3 separate regions of the Homo sapiens genome follow, and regions 1 and 2 are each linked to region 3. Evidence: promoter capture Hi-C in human tissues and cell types (Jung and others, 2019). All regions are on one chromosome and are shown on one strand. The core of a region is centred on a gene start or on the middle of the fragment in contact, and the rest is flanking DNA. Distances in the headings are between cores, read along the strand shown.

Region 1 (4,329 bases), core at 241-2,740, 260 kb before region 3:
GCTAATTTTTTTTGTATTTTTGTTAGAGACAGGGTTTCATCATGTTGCCCAGGCTGGTGTCAAACTCCTGAGCTCAAGCAATCTGTCCACAGTGGCCTCCCAAAGTGCTGGGATTACAGGTGTGAGCCACGGTGGTGGCCTTTAGGAATTTTTATTAATGTTAATATGTGATAATGGCATTATGGTTATTTTACAACATGAGGCTTTTTTATCTCTCAAAAACATATACTAGGGCTGGGCGCAGTGGCTCACGCTTGTAATCCCAGCACTTTGGGAGGCCGAGGCGGGTGGATTGCTTGTGGTCAGGAGTTCGAGACCAGCCTGACCAACATAGTGAAACCCTGTCTCTACTAAAAGTACAAAAATTAGCCAGGCATGGTGGCAGGCACCTGTAATCTCAGCTACTCAGGAGGCTGAGGCAGGAGGCAGAGGTTGCAGTGAGCCAAGAGCGGCGCCATTGCACTCCAGCCTGGGTGACAGAGTGAGACTCCATCTCAAAAAAATAAATTTTATATATATATATATATATATATACTGAAATATTTATGAGTAAAATTATATGAAATCTGAAATTTGCTTCAAATGGGTAAAGAGTGAGAAATAAGATGAAATAAGATGGTTCATGAACTAATAATCATTGAAGCTGGAAGACCAGTACATGGCAGTTTATTGTACTTTTCTCTTTACTTTTATATACATTAGAAACTTCCCTTAATTTTTAAAAATCTATATTGCAGATTAAAAAACAGCTACAATTTATTGAACAATTAACATAAATCATCATTTTTTTATCTTCACAACACAGTAGTACCTACTGTGAGGTAGGTACTATTACCATAATCTCCATTTTAGAGGTAAGGAAACTGAGGCTTGGAGAGGTTAATTAATGTATCAAAGATCATGTAGCAAAAGACTCAAATCCACATACTAAGTAACCATTGTCTCATAAGTGGGTTTTCTGGAGACTGCATAATGATGCCAAGCCATGTGTCTAGGTTTGCATGAAATGAGAACAGAAGGTGTCCTTGGGGACAGCTGGCATCTGGGTTTCAGCCATTCAAAAACTTTGGCTGGGCATGGTGGCTCACGCCTGTAATCCCAGCACTTTGGGAGGCCGAGGCGGGCAGATCACCTGAGGTCAGGAGTTCGTGACCAGCCTGACCAACATGGTGAAACCCTATTTTTACTAAAAATACAAAAAATATTAGCCGGGCATGGTGGTGCATGCCTTAATCCCAGCTACTCGGGAGGCTGACACAGGAGAATTGCTTGAGGCCGGGAGGTAGAGGTTGCAGTGAGCCAAGATCGCGCCACTGCACTCCAGCCTGGGCAGTGGACAGAGCGAAACTCTGTCTCAAAACAATAAAAATTAAAAAAAACTCTCCAAAATACATAACAAAAATAATTGGGAAAACAATAGCATGTCCAAGCCATGCCAAGGAAAATGTATCACTACTTCTATTCATAGTAAAAAGCCTATTTCAACACTTTACCAAAAAAAGTATTACTGAGCCTTTCAAGGAATGAAAAAGCAGGCAATATACTTGGAGACAGGCAAAAAGACATATGGTCCTCAAGGGAATATGAGTTTGAATGGAAAAATTTGAACAATGGAGAACAGCTTGCCTCTTACTTCCCCTGATGTATGAAGTTTGGTCCATTTCCAATAGCAATCAGAAGCTTCTGGCAGTGGCCCAGCTGGCCTGCCTGTAAGACCATCTGGGAGAAAGGGAAGTGTCCACCACACACTGGTCAGGCTGACACCAGCACTGAACTGTTTGTTCATTTCTGCAGTACCTGCGGAGCTACTATATAAGGCTGGAGTAGTGACATCAACTTCAAATCATCCACGACTCCAAATAAATTAACTTGTCTGATCAAGATATTAAAGGGGACTTTTGGCCAGCCACCGTGGCTCACACCTGTAATCCCAGCATTTTGGAAGGCCGAGGCAGGAGGATTGCTTAAGCCCATGAATTGGAGACCAGCCTGGGCAACATAGCAAGACCTTGTCTCAATTATTAAAAAAAAAAAAAAAAAACTAAAAGGGTCATGCAACGTGGCTCATGCCTGTAATCCCAGCACTTTGGGAGGCCAAGGCAGAAGGATTACTTGAGCCCAAGAGTTCTGGATCAGCCCAGGCATATAGGCAGATCTCCTCTCTACAAAAATACAAAAACTAGGTGTGGTGGCACACACCTGTAGTCCCAGCTACTCAGGAAGCCGAGGTGGGAGGATGACTTGAGCCTGAGAGGTCTAGCCTGAGTGAGCCATGCAGGCCACTGCACTTCAGCCAGGGTGACACAGTTAGACCCTGTCTCCAAAAAAAAAAAAGAAAAGAAAAGAAAAATATAAATAAATAAAGGAGACTTTTCAGAAACGTAATGAATCAAGCTTAGAATAACTTATTACCAAGTTTTTAAAAAATTGGTCTGGAGTTCATCCCTGGTCTAATTAAGACCAATATTATCTTTTCTCCCGAATATAACTCAGGATAGCTATCTTCATTATTCTGCTTGCATCTAATGGCCGAGACATTAAGTCTCTGACTTTAATATATAGCTTTGAGGTTGAAAACTGTTATCTACCCAACACATTCTGTTGTGGGAGGAGATCACTTTTTATGTCATAAGAGATCAGACTAATTCTTTATTCTTTTCTTAGAAACAGAGATAAATATTCACAAGGATTCTTCAAACACCAGAGATAAAATACTGGATCATAAAAACATGATTTTTAAAAATTTTCTGCTAGATTCACAGGTGAAACAAGATGAATTTGAACCATATACAAACAGAGTTGTTTTACCACAAATTTACTGATTCTAAAGGCTTTTACGTAGTAATAAGAGGTAAGAAATTAAAAGAAAGAGTAGAGGCAGGCGTGGTGGTTTATGCCTGTAATCCCAGCACTTTGGGAGGCTGAGTCGGGAGGATTGCTTGAGGCCAGGAATTCGAGACCAGCCTGGGTAACATAGTCAGACTCCGTCTCTATAAAAAATTTAAAAATTAACCGGCTGTGGTGGTGTACACCTGTAGCCCTAGCTACTCAGAAGGCTGAGGCAGCAGGATCACTTGAGCCCAAGAGTTTGAGATCACAGTGAGCTTTGATCACACTACTGCACTCCAGCCTGAGCAACAGAATAAGACTCTGTCTGTTAAAAAAAAAAAAAAAAAGAGAGTAGAGAAAATGCAGAATCAATCACTATAATTAGAAAAATCTAAAATGTTATAGATTTCCTATTTTATCAATTTTTTCCACTGAAGAGAATATGTCAATATTTTGTATGCAATCGGAGAAATAATAGGTGCTCAGTTGTTGAAAAGACATAACTGCAAATCAAGCCCACCACCACACTCTCAGATTACTGATAATGTAGATGCTGTCATCCTCGTTTTCAGTTTTTGAAAGCACTTATTTATCATTCACTTACATAGAAGGGAAACTCTCTTCCCTTCTATAGGTCAAGCAATATAGATTATATGCATATTCATTCATTTAACAAATACAGCAGTAAGTTTGGCAAACTACTGTATTATACGCCAGGCACTGTGCTCAGAACTCGAAATACAACTCTGAATAAAACAGACATGGTCCCTGCCTATATGAAGCTTTGGGAGGGACAAATAACTAAACAGATCATTACAATAGAGAGTAAGAAGATATTAGGAATTAATGTAATCTCAACTATGGTGACTACTAGGAAGGGGAATATAGTGTGCTATGAGAGAATATAAGTGGAGTCTAAATTTGAATGTTTATCATACCAGAAACCTCAATGAAATACTTAATGTTGTTAGAATATCCATATGAACCCTCAAATTTCCCAAACATTCTTCCAAATAGGTAGTCATGTGATTAGTTTGGGCCAATGGGCTGGGTGGAGAAGTGTATCATTTCTAGGAGGAAGCATTTTTTTGTTCTTTTTTTTTTTTTTTTTTGAGACAGAGTCTCACTCTGTCACCCAGGCTGGACTGCAGTGGTGCGATCTTGGCTCACTGCAACCTCTGCCTCCTGGGTTCAAGTGATTCTCCTGCCTCAGCATCCCAAGTAGCTGGGACTACAGGTACACACCACTATGCCCAGCTAATTTTTGTATTTTTCTGTAGAGACAGAGTTTCACCATGTTGGCCAGGCTGGTCTCGAACTCCTGACCTGAAGTGATCCACCTGCCTCCGCCTCCCAAAATGCTGGGATTACATGTGTGAGCCACTGCACCTGGCCAAGGAGGAAGCATTTAAGAGACAGAGCTACTCTCTAGCTCTTTCCGCTTCAGCCACTACAGTCATGGAGGCCACGTATTCGGATGAAGTTTCAAAAGATGGAGAC
Region 2 (4,632 bases), core at 1,433-3,932, 320 kb before region 3:
AGGCCAAGGTGGGTGGATCACCTGAGGTCAGGAGTTCAAGACCAGCCTGGCAACATAGTGAAACCCAATCTCTACTAAAAATACAAAATTGGCCAGGTGTGGGGGTGCATGCCTGTATTCCCAGCTACTCAGGAGGCTGAGGCAGGAGAATAGCTTGAACCTATGAGGCAGAGGTTGCAGTGAGCTGAGATCATGCCATTACACTCCAGCCTGGGCAACAAGAGTGAAACTCCATCTCAGAAAAAAAAAAAAAAAAAAAAGAAATCATGACACATTCTATTTTTTTCTAGCCAGTGACTAACAATTTTAAGATAGTGGCTTTTCAGAACTCAAACAAATTTACAAGAAAAAAACAAACATCCCCATCAACAATTGGGCGAAGGATATGAACAGACACTTCTCAAAAGAACACATTTATGCAGCCAACAGACACATGAAAAAATGCTCATCATCACTGGCCATCAGAGAAATGCAAATCAAAACCACAATGAGATACCATCTCACACCAGTTAGAATGGCAATCATTAAAAAGTCAGGGAACAACAGGTGCTGGAGAGGATGTGGAGAAACAGGAACACTTTTACACTGTTGATGGGACTGTAAACTAGTTCAACCATTGTGGAAGACAGTGTGGCGATTCCTCAAGGATCTAGAACTAGAAATACCATTTGACCCAGCCATCCCATTACTGGGTATATACCCAAAGGATTATAAATCATGCTGCTATCAAGACACATGCACATGTATGTTTATTGCGGCACTATTCACAATAGCAAAGACTTGGAACCAACCCATATGTCCATCAATGATAGACTGGATTAAGAAAATGTGGCACGGCTGGGCGCGGTGGCTCACGCCTGTAATCCCAGCACTTTGGGAGGCCGAGGCGGGCGGATCACAAGTTCAGGAGATCAAGACCATCCTGGCTAACACGGTGAAACCCCGTCTCTACTAAAAATACAAAAAATTAGCCGAGCATGGTGGCAGGCGCCAGTAGTCCCAGCTACTCAGGAGGCTGAGACAGGAGAACGGCGTGAACCTGGGAGGCGAAGTTTGCAGTGAGCCAAGATCGGGCCACTGCACACCAGTCTGGGCGATAGAGCGAGGCTCCGTCTCAAAAAAAAAAAAAAAGAAAAGAAAAGAAAATGTGGCACATATACATCATGGAATACTATGCAGCCATAAGAAAGGATGAGTTCATGTCCTTTTTAAGGACATGGATGAAGCTGGAAACCATCATTCTCAGCAAACTATTGCAAGGACAGAAAACCAAACACCGCATGTTCTCACTCATAGGTGGGAATTGAACAATGAGAACACATGGACACAGGATGGGGAACATCACACACTGGAGACTGTTGTCGGGTGGGGGGAGGGTGGAGGGATAGCATTAGGAGATATACCTAATGTAAATGACGAGTTAATGGGTGCAGCACACCAACATGGCACATGTATACATATGTAACAAACCTGCATGTTGTGCACACGTACCCTAAAACTTAAAGTATAATAAAAAAATTAGAAAAAAAAAAAAGATAGTGGCTTTTCTGTCCGCCTGGGTTCCTGAGTGATTACAATTGAGGTAGGAGGCAGGACTCAACTCCAGACCAGATTAAAGACTGACTGAAACATGGAAGTGGCGCTGAAAGCACCTCTCCATAAGATGTGCCCACCAGCACCATGACAGTTTACAATTGCCATGGCAATACACAGAAGTTACCACCTCTTCCCATGGCAACTAGCAGGAAGTTTTCACCCTTTCTCTAGAAATTTCTGAATAACCCACTGCTTAATTGCATATGATTAAAAGTTGGTATAAATATGACTGCAGAACTTCCCTGAGTTGCTGCTCGCAGCACACTGCCTATGAGGTAGTCCTGCTCTGCAGGAGCAGTGACCAAGCTATAACACCACCTCCTCAATAAAGCTGTTTTCTTCTACCACCAGCTTGCTCTTGCATTCTTTCCTGAGCAAAGCCAAGAACTGTCCTGGGCTAAGCCCCAGTGTTAGGGCTCACCTGCCCTGCACTGCAGTGAGCAGAGCCTTCCTGCTGAATGACAGTGGATTTGTAATGGGAGTAAGAATTAAGACTTTGTTGTCTTAGCCACTTTGATTTGCAGGGGCTTTCTTATTACTGCATAAAAGCTGCAGGCTATCTTGACTGATAGAGCAGGAGACCAGCATGATGAGATTTATATTTTTAAAAGATAATTGAGACAATATGGAGGATGGATTAGAAGTAGTAGAGGAAGTTAATTACAGGCACAAAACCAATACAGAGATATTGCAATACTCCAGGAAAGAGATAATAAAGGCCTAAAATAAGAGCAATAACAGTGGAAGTGAAGAAAATGAGTTATATTTAAGAAATATTTACATTGCAATATCAACAATATTACATTGCAATATCAAAGAATATAGTGATTATCAAAATGTGCTATATAGATTTTTTTTCACCTATTCCTATGTAAAAATTACCCCAAAACTTATTGACTTAAAACAATGATAAAAGACATTATCTCACAGTTTCTGTGGGTCAGAAAGTTCAAGAACAGCTTAGCTGGTGGTCCTGGCTCAGGATTTCTCATGAGGTTGCAGTCAAGATTTTGGCCAGGGCTGCAGTCATCTGAAGGTTTGACTGGGGCTGGAGGATCCACTTCCAAAATGGTTCACTTCTATAGCTGGGAAGTTGATGCTAACTGTTAGCAAGAGGCTTCCGTTTCTTATCATATGGACCTTTCCATGAGGCTGCTTGAATGTCCTCATGATGTGGCAGCTGGCTTTACCCAGAGTGAGTGACCCAAAAGAGAATATGGTACAGTGGCAATTTCTCTTATGGCCTAGCCTTAGAAGTCACACACCACGACTGCTTGTATATTCTTTGGCCATAGTGACCAAACATGATGCACTGTAGGAAGGGCCCCTAAAAAGAGGTGAATATAGGAGGTAAGGATCATGAAGGGCCAGCTTGAAGCCTGACTACCACAATGAACAAGATGGAAATAAAGAAGCTGACTGACTCTGAGACTTCTAGCTTAAATGATTCAATGGTCAGATTAAGCAAGATACAGAAAGGAGGTGGGGGGACCAGTTTGGGAAGGGAGAAAGCAGATCATTAGTTCTATTTTGGAACTGACATGGGGAGGAGCCTCGAAGACACGCAAACAGAGATGCCTAATTGTTAAATAAGCAGCTACTAAGAGAGGGCTGATAACTTAGGAATGAATACTATCTGAGTGGTGGGAGGAGCAAAGGCAGAAAATAATATGGCCCAGGAAGTATATACAGAAAAAAGAGGGAAGAAACTAAACAAAACACCAGGAATGGATCCTTATGAAGAGATTCTTATATTTTTAAGGGAAGGGGGAAAGAGGAAAAGTCAGTAAATGGCACAGGGCAGCAGGACTCAGGGAAGGAATCAGAGAATGGGTGTTGTCTGGATCGGGAGGCTATGGTGGACAGTTCTGTGAGTTTCAGCAGCAATGCCACATGACATAAAGCAGTCAAGCAATGTGAAAACTGAGACAAGCCCACTGGATTTCAGAGATACAGTGCGTGGCCATATGGTAAGTATCTCAGTGGAGGTGGGATGGTATTGCTCACCTAAATGCATAATTTCACCATTGAAAGATTAAACTCTTCCTCTCATGCAATAGAGGTGGCTTCCCTCATAACAGGCCCACAGTATAACACCTTGAGGACAGAACAACCACAGCCCACCCATGATGTAAGAACTAGTCCACACAGCAATGGAAAACTCCTTTCATCATGGGTCTGTCATGAGCATATCTATTGTGAATGGAGCATGAATGGGTCAGAGAAAGAACAATTTCTTCTTCCCAAACAACTTTGCCTTCATGAAAAGCTTAGGTTATTGATGAATTTCTTAGGGCAACCATATTGCTTGGTAGCTACTCTATGGATCTAGGGTTATAGGATAGGAAGTCCCAAACCCAGAATCGCAGGATTTGAAAATCGTAAGAAGAGATAATCTTGATGAATCTTCTTATTTTAAAGATAAAAGAAGACCTAGTAAGATTAAGCTATTTGGTCAAGGTAATTTTTTTTTTTTTTTTGCTATGATTGGGTCCTAGCTTTCTGGCTGACTGCTTCTCATCCAGAACCCTTTTAACTCATTCACATTTCTTCACATTATTTTACACACACATACACACACACACACACGTGCACATAGATATAAATCTGATATGAGGAGAAACTGATGTTCAGTAGTTTAATAGGCATCTCCAATTTAACATAGCTAAAACAGATCTCTTGATGTTGTTCCTGAAAATAGATCTCTACCCACCTCCCCCATAACTATAAAGGGTACTCTCACCCATACCCCAGAAACCTTTCTTGATGGCGCTCTCTCTCACCATCGTAGCATTTACCAATATCTGACGTTGTTTTAGATTTTTATCTGCTTATTATCGTTCCATTGAAATTTAAGCTCCATGGTGGCATTTTGTTCAGAGAAAACTCTTCACTGCTTTAAAAGTCCCTGGCACATAGTAGGCGCCCAAAAAATATATGTTGAATGAATCCATTGGTATTAAATCCTGTGGTCAGGAAACACTTATGGCAACATCATTTTTAGCTAAATGGGAACTTAATGTAGGGACTTACCAG
Region 3 (4,785 bases), core at 436-2,935:
CATAAACTGTAGCTCAACTTCCCAAGTTCCTAGGGGATTTTCACTGGCCCAGACTCAGGAAGAATTTTCTTCTATGGGATCCAAGACTTCAGAGACCAAACATTTCCTGAAGACTTTCCTCTGCTTTCTGACCTCCACCTACCTCCTCCCAAAGACATAACAAAAAAACTATTTGTGATCAGTGCAGGCAGCCAAGAGTGCCCAGTGGGCCTAAGGTACTGGGTAAAGGAACAGGAATCCACAATTCTTTCTTGGTATTAAGGTATCATTGACTTGCCTGATGGCTCGAGTATGTTAACCCCTTGCTTCATGGCTGGAATTTTAATTACCCCTCCTGGAGCTTTTCTGAAGAATTGATTTTGGCGTTTATTCATATTTCAGAAATCAACTCTATCATCAAATAGGAATGATGGTTAATTACAAAACAAAGTCCGCCCAAAGCACCAAATTATCAGACTGTGGCACATCCAGAGGTTTTGAAACTAGTTAGTGCTGCTGCCTCTGCTGGTAGCTTGTTAAAACCTGAACTGGGGCCGGGCGCAGTGGCTCACGCCTGTAATCCCAGCACTTTGGGAGGCCGAGGCGGGCGGATCACGAGGTCAGGAGATCGACACCATCCTGGCTAACACGGTGAAACCCCGTCTCTACTGAAAATACAAAAAAAATTAGCCGGCCGTGGTGGCGGGAGCCTGTAGTCCCAGCTACTCTGAGGCAGGAGAATGGCGTGAATCCGGGAGGCAGAGCTTGCAGTAAGCCAAGATTGCGCCACTGCACTCCAGCCTGGGCGACTCCGTCTCAAAAAACAAACAAACAAACAAAAACACAAAACCTGAACTGGGTGCGTTGGCTAGTGGTTTGGGAACAGAATTTTGGAGCTTTATAGGAGATGTCCTGGTCTGTTATACATCCACTCACCCCAGCCTCCAGGAACTGGGGAGCTGGTAGAGGGGGGTGCCGGCCACTTTGACTGTCGCTGGCCAATCCTGTCTTCTGCATCCCTCCAAGGCTCCATGGGGACATCCAAGGTGAGGTTCCTCCATTCTGCAAAGTTGCAAATGTCTCTGCTCATAATTTCAAAAGTCTTGTCTGAACTAGACTTTCCCTGCTCCCTCGGGGTAGGAATTTTGTCTCCTCTCCATCCTGGCATCTTTACCTCCTCCCCATCCCGGGGCCTGGTCCCCAGCCAGTGGACGCTCTGTTAATATGAACTGGCACTGGTGGGGTGCTCTGGGCACTGGCAAGACAGCTCTTGGCGCTTGTCATCAATTAGCCCAATTCTCACCACTTTTTTCTCCATCCCCGCGTCAGTGGGTGCGTCCCGCAGGTCATGACCCCAAGTTCTAGATGTAAGATTCCTGCCATGTCTCCTTTCCCCCAGAAGACCCCTCCCCGCACTCCCAACCCGACAGGCCCCTAAAGCTGCCTGTGTTCCGTGCCTGCGGCTCCGGACCCCTGGAGTCTGATGCCCGCCTGGGCTCAGGCACGGACGGAGTGGAGCCAGGTGGCAGCAGGCAGGGCGCGCCGCCAGAGTGCCCAGCTCCCGGGGCTGCCCACAGGGTGGGGCCGCCCTCGCCGCCGCTCCCTCTCCGCGCCTTCCCCATCCCCAAAGAGGACACCCCTCCTTCCGCCCGGCCCGCTCCCCACCCCCGCCGCGGCACCGCCTCCCCAGCCGCCCGCCCTTGCCCAGCGCCTCCCAGGCAGCCAGCGAGCGAAGGGAGCGCTCTGGGATGGGACTTGGAGCAAGCGGCGGCGGCGGAGACAGAGGCAGAGGCAGAAGCTGGGGCTCCGTCCTCGCCTCCCACGAGCGATCCCCGAGGAGAGCCGCGGCCCTCGGCGAGGCGAAGAGGCCGACGAGGAAGACCCGGGTGGCTGCGCCCCTGCCTCGCTTCCCAGGCGCCGGCGGCTGCAGGTGAGCGCGGCGCGCTTTCCCCCGGCTCTGCGCGGCCGGGCGGCCTCGAAGTGCAGGCGGACCGACCCACCGACAGAATACCGAGCCTGGGCTGCCCGACGCGCAGGCGCCCTCCCCAGGCCCGCACTGCAGCCCCCAGCGCCCCGGGGCCCCGGCGCCTTCGACCCCTCCGAGGACAGGGGGAGAGGGAGGGCGGCGCTGCCCGACCCCTCGGCCGGGAGAGCTGGGCGCGCTCCCTGCGCAGGACAAGCCGCGCTGCAGCCGCCCCGGAGTGCCCCGTGGGGGCGCTGTGGCACGCAGCGGGGACGCCCAGACCCCGGCCACCGCGACCCAGGGAAAGGGAGACCTGTTGAGCGGGTATGCAGGGTGATTCCTATTCCACGGACAGCCGATGGCTCCCCCTTCCCTCTTCGGAACCTGGTATTTTCATGCCCGTGTCATCTGGATTTTGTTCTTGGGTCTCTATGGCAGCTAAACCTCCAGCTTCCCTATATTGTGGAAGAGGGAGAGAAAGGGGAAGGCATTTTGTGGTAGTTGCTAGAAACCCCAGAACAATTTGGAGCCGTTTGGGGAGAGGACAGAGAAATGGGGACTGTCCCTGGTAGGGTCTCCAGGACTGGGGGCACAGGAAAGTGCTCTCCTCAGGGACACTCGCGCCCACCCTGAACAAACCCAATTGACCAAGTTTCAATTTGTCATAAATCAGGAAGCCACAATGCATCTGCACCAAGCACACTTAAAATCGGCCTTTAAGGAATGGGGCAGTCAAGAGACTTCAGGGACCCGTGGTCGAGAGCAGAGACTGGGGTCAGCCTGCTTGGGTTTCAACCCCAGCTGTGAAGTTTACAGGGTTGATAACTTGAAGGTACCCAAGTATGCCTCAGTTTCCTCATCTGTCTAATGAGGATGGTAATACCCACAGAACTGTGAGGATTAAATGAGATATGGCGGCCGGGCACGGTGGCTCAGGGCTGTCATCCCAGCACTTTGGGAAGCCGGGGCGGGCGGATCACCTGAGGTCGGGAGTTCGAGACCAGCCTGACCAACATGGAGAAACCCCGTCTCTACTAAAAATACAAAATTAGCCGGACTTGGTGGCGCATGCCTGTAATCCCAGCTACTCGGGAGGTTGAGGCAGGAGAATCGGTTGAACCCAGGAGGCAGAGATTGCAGTGAGCGGAGATGGTGCCATTGCACTCCAGCCTGGGCAACAAGAGCTAAACTCCGTCTCAAAAGAAAAAAAAAAAGATATGGCAAGTAAAGTCCTTAGAACATTTCCAGGAGCATTCTAAGATTAGGTGAGTTCCATGGCTTGTCTTTGCAGAAATAGCAAGGAGCTGCTATGAGCAGTGAATGTACCTCTTCCCCAGTTCAGAAAGAGAGGCTCTCCATGGGTACGTGAGGGTGGCAGATAAGCCACGTGTATGCAACTGGTAGTTCCATGCAGGAGTCCACACGGGCGCAGTTCTCCCTGCTTGCTCCCAAAGGGCCAACCTCATAAAACCATGTCAAAATACCAACATGGGTTTATGACCTGGAATGTTTCCTCTCAGTCCCTGAAACTTGGCACTTAGAATCCTCTGTGGAGAATGAGATACTTATGGCTCTTCACCTTGCATTTTCCTATCTGTCCACACTTTTTACTTTTATTTCTGCCAATAGAATTCAATCTCAGGCCCCCGAGTTACCAGGACACTGTCTTCTATAAATCGGGGCTCTGGGGTTTCTTGTTCCCAGGCAACCCAGGGCCACCAAGGCCTAAGCTTGCTTGTTGGAGGTGTCAGAGCAGAGTCCAAATCTGAAACACCCTCGAGCAGCTGTCATGCCCTAAGCTCTTATCAGCGAGTGCCATATGTCCTTGTTTAGCAAAAGGTAGTTAAAAGTGTGGCCTGAGATTTAAAGAAAAGGAGAGATGTTTGCTCTTTGAAATAAGAGAGCCATTGGAGGTTCTGGAAAAATAATTCTACAGTTTATTTAGAAACAGTTCTGACTGGCACCTAAGAGAGGGCAAGGAGTGAGGTGGGGAGACTAAAAGGGGGAGAGACCGGCTTAGGCCTCAGGAAAAGCAGGCCGAAGAGGGTGTGACAGGTCTAACGCTGGCCTGAGCAAGGTGTTGGGTATGAGGCTGGGCAAGCAGTAGGAGAGGTGAGTGGTTTAAGACCAGTCAAGTTGGCAGAGAGCCTCTAGTGCTGCCCCTGGCACTCACTGCCCTCTGATCTGTAGCACCTGCAGGAGCGTCCCTTCCAGGGATTCCCCGTCTTCTAGGGAAGCTATGGAGGACTCCCCTGTTTAAAGCATATGGCAAGATAACTCAGGAGGGCCAGGGAAAGAGGGAGGCTGAGCATATGCCAAGGGGAGAATGGGGAATGTCATTGCTGTTGCTAGTGAATGGTGCCAGGGAGGTCCTTCCAAGGGGCCACTTGCCACTTGGAGCTTCAGCCCATGAGGCCATCCTTGAACCCTGCCATGTGGCTCGGCAGACAGCCAATACTGCCTGAAGGGGGCTCAGATGGAATGGCAGGGCTGGGCTGTTGCCAGTAATTGGTGTTAATGACTATGACAGTGGCTTTGACATGGATGAGATGGAGTTGGGGTACAACCCAAAGCACACTGCTCTTGGCACCCGAAAGACCTGGGTTGCAGTTCTAGCCCCTCATACCTGCAAAGATTTTGGAAAGTTACTTAGACTCTCTGTGCCTGACATCTGTTTCTTCATCTGTAAATGAAGACTGGATTTTTTGGGAGAATTAAATTAGTTAACAGGTGTTCAGTGCCTAGCTCAGAATAAATGCTCAATATTTGTTAGCTATACTTACTATTATTGTCTGAGCCTTGGTTTATATCATCTGTCAAATGGGCGTGATACTATGTCATAG

Evidence for each region. Contacts are between HindIII fragments. The study calls those that stand out against the background at their distance.
Region 1: a fragment that was not itself captured here is called in contact with the fragment with the promoter of MATN2 in region 3 in 1 of the 25 tissues and cell types used here (H1 embryonic stem cells).
Region 2: a fragment that was not itself captured here is called in contact with the fragment with the promoter of MATN2 in region 3 in 1 of the 25 tissues and cell types used here (spleen).

What each region holds. Positions count from the first base shown.
Region 1 is chr8:97,605,737-97,610,065 of GRCh38, forward strand. No RefSeq gene overlaps it. Among named protein-coding and RNA genes, the nearest start is that of MTDH, 36 kb to the right of the region's middle. The HindIII fragment of the contact is 3,024 bases long and covers 1-3,002 here.
Region 2 is chr8:97,545,386-97,550,017 of GRCh38, forward strand. No RefSeq gene overlaps it. Among named protein-coding and RNA genes, the nearest start is that of MTDH, 96 kb to the right of the region's middle. The HindIII fragment of the contact is 5,626 bases long and covers 1-4,632 here.
Region 3 is chr8:97,867,379-97,872,163 of GRCh38, forward strand. It overlaps MATN2 (matrilin 2), which reads left to right and starts at 1,686. Exons shown (of 19, transcript NM_002380.5): 1 at 1,686-1,909. RefSeq lists an enhancer at 787-1,286. The HindIII fragment of the contact is 19,586 bases long and covers 1-4,785 here.